Linked DNA regions of Homo sapiens: region 1 is linked to region 2. Evidence: promoter capture Hi-C in 16 types of primary human blood cells and fetal thymus (Javierre and others, 2016). All regions are on one chromosome and are shown on one strand. Each heading gives the region's core, a stretch centred on a gene start or on the middle of the fragment in contact. The rest is flanking DNA. Distances are from core to core; before and after follow the strand shown. Region 1 overlaps CHST11 (carbohydrate sulfotransferase 11). Region 2 holds the start of NOPCHAP1 (NOP protein chaperone 1).

Region 1 (3,640 bases), core at 1-2,500, 330 kb before region 2:
TAGCAAGCATCTTCAATCCACTATTTGCATGTCTTTCTTCTCATCTCTGGGAGCGAAACAAAAAGAGTAAACCTTAAAGGTTTTCACATCCTTCACCCTAAATGACCACTTACGCACATTTTAAGTTATTGTCAGCGATTTGTGTTTTAAAATACAAGCCTTGCTATGTTTAGCTAATTCTCCTGGGTGAGAGACATGATTGATTAGAAACTTTAACAGCCGTTCATGGAGAGAAGTATAAGTCTTTCAGGATCACGCCTCTCACCCAGCCTTTGTTGGGAATGGAGAATTGATCTGGGAGCCACAGCACTTCTTTCTTCCCTGGCAGATGAAAAAAAAAACCCTCGAGATCATTTGCAGGCCAGCCCCGCTCCCATGTTTTTTCTCTGAAGAGCATGGGAGAAATAATGCATGTTCCATTTCACAGCTTGGAAAATCAGCAGTAGTTGTTTCAGATTGCTGGAATTTTGGAAGGATTTTCTCTGTACTTTTCCAAGTGCCCCATGTGTTTGAATACCCAGGTGATGGTGGCGCTGGCTACCTAGACAGCTTCTTCCACCTTCACGCTCTGGACTCCGATGGCTGGACTTGCATTCTTGAGGGTCCCCAGGCTCCAGTGTGGTGTGTCGGGAACATAGGGAGAACCTTGCTCAATAAGCATCTGTGTCTGCCTTGGCTCAAGCTGGAGCAGGGTGTCCAAGGCAGCCTGGACCCGAATAAAGACACGCTTTATTTCCCCTTCAGTTGACGGAGGGGGATTTTGAAGGTAGCAGGGGAAACAGAGTGAGCAGTGTTCAGGGACGCAGCCCACCTTCCTGGGTAGTTTTCCACTGCAACAGACCCGCCGAGGCCAGCCAGCCAAGGATACTCAGAGTTTTACAAGCATGCTGTGTGGACTGGGGCGGGGGCTGGCTTAGAGCCCCCTATGCCGCCCCCAACCTGCAGTGCCTCTTGGTGAGGAGAGGAGGCAGGATGAGCGTCTGCAATCATTGCCATGACAAAGTACCAGAGGCCGAGGGACTTAAATAGCAATTTATTTTCTCACACTTCTGGAGGCTGGGAGTCTAAGATCAAGGTGTGGTCAGGGTTGGTTTCTTCTCAGGCCATGAGAGAAGGGGCTGTCCCAGGCCTGTCTCCTTGGCTGGTAGATGCACCTTCATGTTCACACAGCAGTCTCCTTGTGTCTCTGTGCAAATTTCCCCCTCTTGTCATGATACCAGACACATTAGATTGGGACCCCACCCTAAGGACCTCATTTTCACTTGATCACCTCTGTGCAGACACTATCTCCAAATAAGGGTACTGTCTGAACGACTGGGGGTTAGTACCTCAGCATGTGCATTTTGGAGAGACACAGTTAATTCATGACAGCGTGTACCTTACATTCCATGGTGTTTATCTGGAGAGGGGGAGGTAGCCCTGGGGACCGTAACTCTGGCACTTCCTAGCGCCTTGATGATTGGCTTTTCTCCTACCTTCTGCTTCCATTCTCCTCCTCCCAGACTCTCTCATCCAATAACCCCCGCATCTGTACCCTGTTCGCTCCATAATAATGATAACTACTCCTTAGTAGTTGCTTCTTAGGTGCCAAGCAAAGTGCTAGGCATTTTATTTTTATTAACTCATGTAATCCTCATGATGACCCTTGAAATAGGCTCTATTGCCGTTCTCATTGTATAAACAAGGGAACTGAGGCACAGAGAGATTTAGTAACTTGCCCAAGGGCACGCTGCTAGTAAGTGGTGAAGCTGGGATTTGAACCCAGGCAGTCTGGCTGCAGAGGATACTTTATAAACCACTTCTACTTCACTTAATAGGCGTAATATTCCACTTGAAGCCCTTCACATCTTACCAAGGGCTCCCAAAACGTTCTCTCACTTGATCTCCATCAAAAAAGAGCACCATTGGAGGGGCTCAGAGGAATGGGTTCTAACATGTGATGTGTCTGGATCCGTGCTCAAGAACTGGGATGATGCCATGGATAAGAGCACAGCTCTGTGTTCTGCATCACAGACTCTGCATTGACTAGCTGTGTGACTTTGGGCAAGTGATGTAGCCTCTCTGTGCCTCACTTTCCTCATCTGCAAAGTGGGGTGACAGTCTCTTAGGGTTGTTTAGGGAGGATTCCTTGAGGGGCTGGCACATGATAATTGCTCAAGACATATGATCGTTGGTGATAATATTACTTCTCCGTATCTCTAAGAGCTTCCGGGGATCTCCAAGAGCCATCACTGCCCCGATCCTCCATCCCCACAGTGCAGAGCTGTGCTGCTCAGGGTGGTAGCCCTGAGCTCCAAATGGCTGCTGAGCACTTGAAATGTGGCGAGTGTGAATTGAGACATGCTGTAAGGGTTAAATACATACCATATTTTGAAGAATAAGTACCAAAAAATGTAAATGATCTCATGAATAATTTTTATATTGATTTTATGTTGAAATGAAAATGTTTTAGGTATGTTGGGTTAAATAAAGATATATTATTAACATTAATTATGGCCAGGCACAGTGGTTCATGCCTGTAATTCCAGTGCTTTGGGAGGCCAAGGCAGAAGGATTGCTTGAGGCCAGAAGTTCGAGACCAGCCTGGGCAACATAGTGAGACCCCCCCCCGCCCCCACCATCTCTACAAATAATTTTTAAAAATTAGCTGGGTATGGTGGCGTGCCCCTGTAGTCCTAGCTACTAGGGAGGCTGAGGTGGGAGGATTGCTTGAGCCCAAGAGTTTGAGGTTACAGTGAGCTATGATGGCACTGCCGCACTCCAGCCTGGGCAACAGAGTGAGACCCTGTCTCTAAAAGAAAACGAATTAATTTCATTCTTTTACTTCTTAAAATTGTGGCTATTGGAAAGCTTAAAATTAAATATGTAGCTCACATTATACTTCTATTGGACTGTACTGGGCTAGACTAGAAATGAGACGCTCCAGGGACCACATCTGTTTTGCTTATCGCTGTATCCCAGCACCTAGCCCAGATCCTGGCTTTACAGTAGATGCTCAGAAAATACTTGTTGATGCTGTTTTGATTGTACAGATGCTCTGTTCTTAGCCCCAGAAAGGTCTCCTGGGTACCACGCCAGGACCAGAGGAAAGTCTTTCGTTCCCAAAGCTCAGGGAAAGGGCTACAGGCTGGGTTTTTAGCTCACTGGGTCTCTGCGGCATTGCCATTGCCCACGGGCTTGGCGCAGGTGGGCCCCCAGCTGAATGGCTGGGTTTGATGGCAGAGCCACCGTCTTGCTCTTCAGCCCAAGGGAAAACATGGCTATGGTAGTTTCTTCTATTTTCAGCACATTAGAGAAACCAACTTTGTATGGAGGACATGAAAGCTCATTTCATAGGCCAGAGGAGGCCCGTGAAAGAGAACACTGTGTGCAAACAGCAGGAGAGAAAGACCCGAAGGAAATTTCCATCCCGGCTGAGGTCCTCTCCTGGACTTGGCTGCTCACAGGAGCCTTGTGAAGATAGAAGTGTACTCCTTCTATCCCAGGCCCTTTTTCACACCCCCTTCTTCTCAGAAGAAAATCCGAAACCCAGCTCTTGTAAAGGGGTGCGTATCTGCCATTCCTCTTTGACCTTACATTTATGAAAACTGAGTCTAGCTCCACCTGCAATCTTGATCAATCCCAAGATTTGAGGCCACTG
Region 2 (3,974 bases), core at 427-2,926:
GATCTGCCCAAAGTCACAGCTACTAAATGAATAATATGACACTGGATTTAATCCACTCCAGGCTGATTCTGGAGCCTCTGCACTGTCAGAAATAAGCAGAAAAGATTGGTCCAAGGTTTCTGCTGCTTCTGCTTTGAATCCTATATAAGAGGGGTCTGGGCATACTGCAGGTGGTCAATAAAGACTGTTAAAAGAACAAACAGGAAAGGAAGCAATAGAGTGAAAAGGCAACCTACAGAATGGGAGAAAATATTTGTAAATCATATATCCGATAAAGGGTTAATATCCAGAATATATAAATAACTCCTACAACTCAACAACAAAAACACAAATAACCAGATTAAAAAATGGGTAAAGGAGTTGAATAGTCATTTCTCCAAAGAAGATATATAAATGGCCAACAAGCCCATGAAAAGGTGTTCAGCATCACTAAATCATTAGAGAAATGCAAACCAAAACTTCAAGATATCACTTCACACTCACTGGGATGCTCACTGTCAAAAAGAAAGAAGCAACCAAACAGAAAAAGGAAATATTGACAAGGATGTGGAGAAATTGGAACTCTTGTGCACTGTGGGAATGTAAAATGGTGCAGCCACTATGAAAAACTATACGGAGGCTTCACAAAAACCTAAAAAGTAGAATTACCCTATTATCCAGTAATCCCATGTCTGGGTATGTATCCCAAAGCATTGAAAAGCAGGGTCTCTAAGAGATATTTGTACCACCATGTTCATTGCAGCAGCGTTCACAATGACCACGAGGTGGAAGCAACCAGCACGCCTGTTGAGAGATCAATGGTAAGAAAATGTGGTATATACATACAATGGCATATTATTCAGGCTTAAAAAAGAAGAGAATCCTGTTATGTGCTACAACATGTCTAAACCTTGAGGGTATTATTTTAAGTGAAATTAGTAACAAAAAGGCAAGTACTGTATGATTCCACCTACATAATGTATCTGAAGTAGTCAAGCTCATAGTAACAGAAAGTAGAACGATGGTAGCTGGGCATGATGGCTCACGCCTGTAATCCCAGCACTTTGGGAGGCCAAGGTGGGTGGATCTCCCGAGGTCAGGAAATCAAGATCAGCCCGGCCAACATGGTGAAAACCCGTCTCTATACAAAAATACAAAAATTAGCCGGGCGTGGTAGTGTGCACCTGTAATCTTAGCTACTTGGGAGGCTGAGGCACCAGCCTGGGCGACAGAGCAAGGCTGTTTCAAAAAGAAAGAAACAAAGAAGAAAGTAGAATGGTGGTTACCAAGGGACTGGAGTAGGGGTAAATGGGTATAAGGTTTCAGTTTTGCAAGATGAAAATGATCTAGAGGTCTGCCACCACTGAATTGTACAACTAAAAATGGTTAAGATGGTAGATTTTGTTACGTGTTTTTTCACCAATTAAAAAAAAATTTAATAAAAAAGGATAAAGAGGAGGGAAGCCTAATGTTATGCTCTTTATGCCCGAATTTGGCGAAATCGAGCCTTGCCCGCTGTTTTTTCCTATGACAGTGTCTGAACCTTTCTTTTTCCCAGGAGTAGGAATGGCCCCTGCTCCCGCGCAGCCTCCAGGCTGCACCACGCTCGCCCCGCCTCTCTCTCCGCTCCTTACTCCGCCCACCGCAGTTTCCTCCAATCGCGGCCCTCTCCCCGCCCCCTTACCCGAGCCTTTTTCCTGCATCCGGGCCTGAGAGTGCAGGCTTGAGGGAAGCATGGAGGTCCATGGCAAGCCCAAGGCTAGCCCGAGTTGTTCGTCGCCCACCCGGGATTCCTCAGGAGTCCCAGTGTCCAAGGAGCTGCTGACGGCGGGAAGCGACGGCCGCGGAGGTGACGGACGGGTGACGGCGGCATGGGCCGCACACGTGCGGCAGAGGAGGCGCGGCCGGTGCAGTTTGGGAGCCGGCCGGTGGCTCCCTGCCCGGGCTCCGTACCCTCGAGGGGAGCCCCGGGGACTGCTGCGGGGCTCCGGCGTGCCCTGCCCGCGGCAGGGGTGGGGGCTTTGGGGCGGGCACCCGGCTGCGGGCCCGGAATGGTTTCCCCAGCTAGTGGTTCTTATATTCTGCAAGGTAGTGAGCGCCCACCCTGCCAGGCGCCGCTGCCAGGCATCTGCCCTGCCCTGGAAGCTGGGAAGCTCTCGAGTTCTTTTGGGGAAGGGAGGGCTTTTGGTTTGGCTGCCTGGGTCGGAGCAGTTGGCTGATAGGGGGAAGCGGAGTAATATTATGCTAACAGTCCCTACCTCTTTCACACCCACACAGACCACCCCTTAGTGCTGCTGTCTTGTAGAGGGAGACATGCATCCAGGAAATCCACACAGCATTTCAGACACTATAGGTAGAATTTAAAAGCACGAGTTCGAATCCCAGCTCCACTAGTAATTAACTGGTGGGACTTAGAGTTATTTTCATTCCCTAAGCCTCAGTTTTTGCATTTGGAAAATGGTGATAGTAGTAATGCCTGTAGAATTTTTGTGAGGAGGAGAATGCCTAAAAAGGCTTGGGCATGTTGTCAGTAAATACTAGCTTGAAGAAAAGGTTTTGTGAGAACCCAGAGATTCCGAAGGAAGTATAATAATGATAACCAAAGCTTATGTAGTCCTTACTATGTATGCCCCAGAAACTAACTCATCTAATCCTCACAACAACCCTTTGCAGAAAATCTGTTATCTCTGTTTTATAGTTGAGGAACCTGAGACATGATTTATCATACAGGTAATTTACCTTCTGGAGATCATGTGGCTAGAAAGTAGCAAAACTGGGACTTGAATTCAAGTAGTCTGGCTCCAGACTCTGTGCTCTGATCACGAATCCAGTAGGCCTTAAGTAGTAGGCATTCAATGGATGTTTGTTGCGGCTCTGCTTTGCAGGTGAACAGGATTTGTTTTTTAACCAGAGAGTTAAGGGATTTTCCGGGTATTAGAAATAGGGTGTGCAAAGCCTTGAGTTTTGTACGTTCCCCTCTTGGAACTCTGATGGGATAGAGAGTTGGGATGATTTGAGTAGTGAGAAATGAGGCTGGAAAGGTAGAGTGGGTGACAAAATCCCCAAAAGGCTGCTTTCCTTGGGTTGAACGTCTTCAGGGAAGGGGAAATACCAGGCAAGCATGTTTTACTAATGAAGAAACAAATGCTTGAAGATCAGGTAAGTTGCCCAGTGTTACACAACTAGTAACCATTTCTGGCTTCACTTAACCATTGTTATGCTCTGTACTGTTTCCTCCGTTCTGTCATTGCAGACCCACGTTTGTCTGCTAATGAATTTCTGATCCAGAAAAGTGCAGATTGGTGTGCATTTATTACCTGCCATTGGTGATAGAGGTGAATGAGACAGATGTAAGAAAGGAGAGGTGGCTGGCTGTACATAAAGAATTAAAATGTTGTAATGGAGCTTGGAGTTCTCCTTTAAAAAAAAAATTTTGGGGGAGTGTGGACAGTCAAGTCTTAAGACTGGTCATGTGAGAGGCTTACTGATGGGCCTTTGTTTTTTTATGCTGTAGTAAATTAAGGGTGTTTGTGTGTCTGTATTTTCAGGTATATGGGACAGGTTGCTCATCAACTCCCAACCTAAGTCCAGAAAGACCTCCACTCTTCAAACAGTTCGGATAGAGAGGAGTCCCTGTAAGTACCTCTTCCCCTCTCTCACCCTCTCTAATGCTGAGTTTTGTCTGATTAAGCTGTGGGACGGTCTCTGCCTTCATTGTCAGGTATCAAACCACAGATAGTCCAGTGGAACAAGTCCTACTTGGGATTTACATGATAAAGTCAGTACACAGAATGGAACTTCTTACATTATTTCTCTACTTTAAGAGGGTAACTTTTTCGTGAAAAATTGCTTGTGGGTTGAATTTTGGGAAGTCAAAAACAATTGTTAATCTCCATGGCAAATTTATTTAGAGGTTACTGAGCCTCAAACTTAATATATATGGATGGAAAACCACAACCACATCCCATTGAATTGGACACAATTATTTAAATGAT

What was found. Contacts are between HindIII fragments. The CHiCAGO score rates a contact against its expected background, and 5 or more counts as called.
Region 1: a fragment that was not itself captured here is called in contact with the fragment with the promoter of NOPCHAP1 in region 2 in 1 of 17 cell types (total B cells); the score reaches 5.5 in total B cells.

Annotation. Positions count from the first base shown.
Region 1 is chr12:104,657,190-104,660,829 of GRCh38, forward strand. All of the region lies in intron 2 of CHST11 (carbohydrate sulfotransferase 11), which reads left to right. Among named protein-coding and RNA genes, the nearest start is that of MIR3922, 67 kb to the left of the region's middle. The HindIII fragment of the contact is 3,196 bases long and covers 1-2,848 here.
Region 2 is chr12:104,984,640-104,988,613 of GRCh38, forward strand. NOPCHAP1 (NOP protein chaperone 1) reads left to right here and starts at 1,677. Exons shown (of 4, transcript NM_152318.3): 1 at 1,677-1,828; 2 at 3,528-3,614. The coding sequence starts at 1,714. LOC105369952 (a long non-coding RNA gene) reads right to left here and starts at 1,731. Exons shown (of 2, transcript XR_007063436.1): 1 at 1,664-1,731. RefSeq lists enhancers at 1,331-1,843, 1,844-2,354 and a silencer at 1,907-2,156. The HindIII fragment of the contact is 4,173 bases long and covers 1-2,582 here.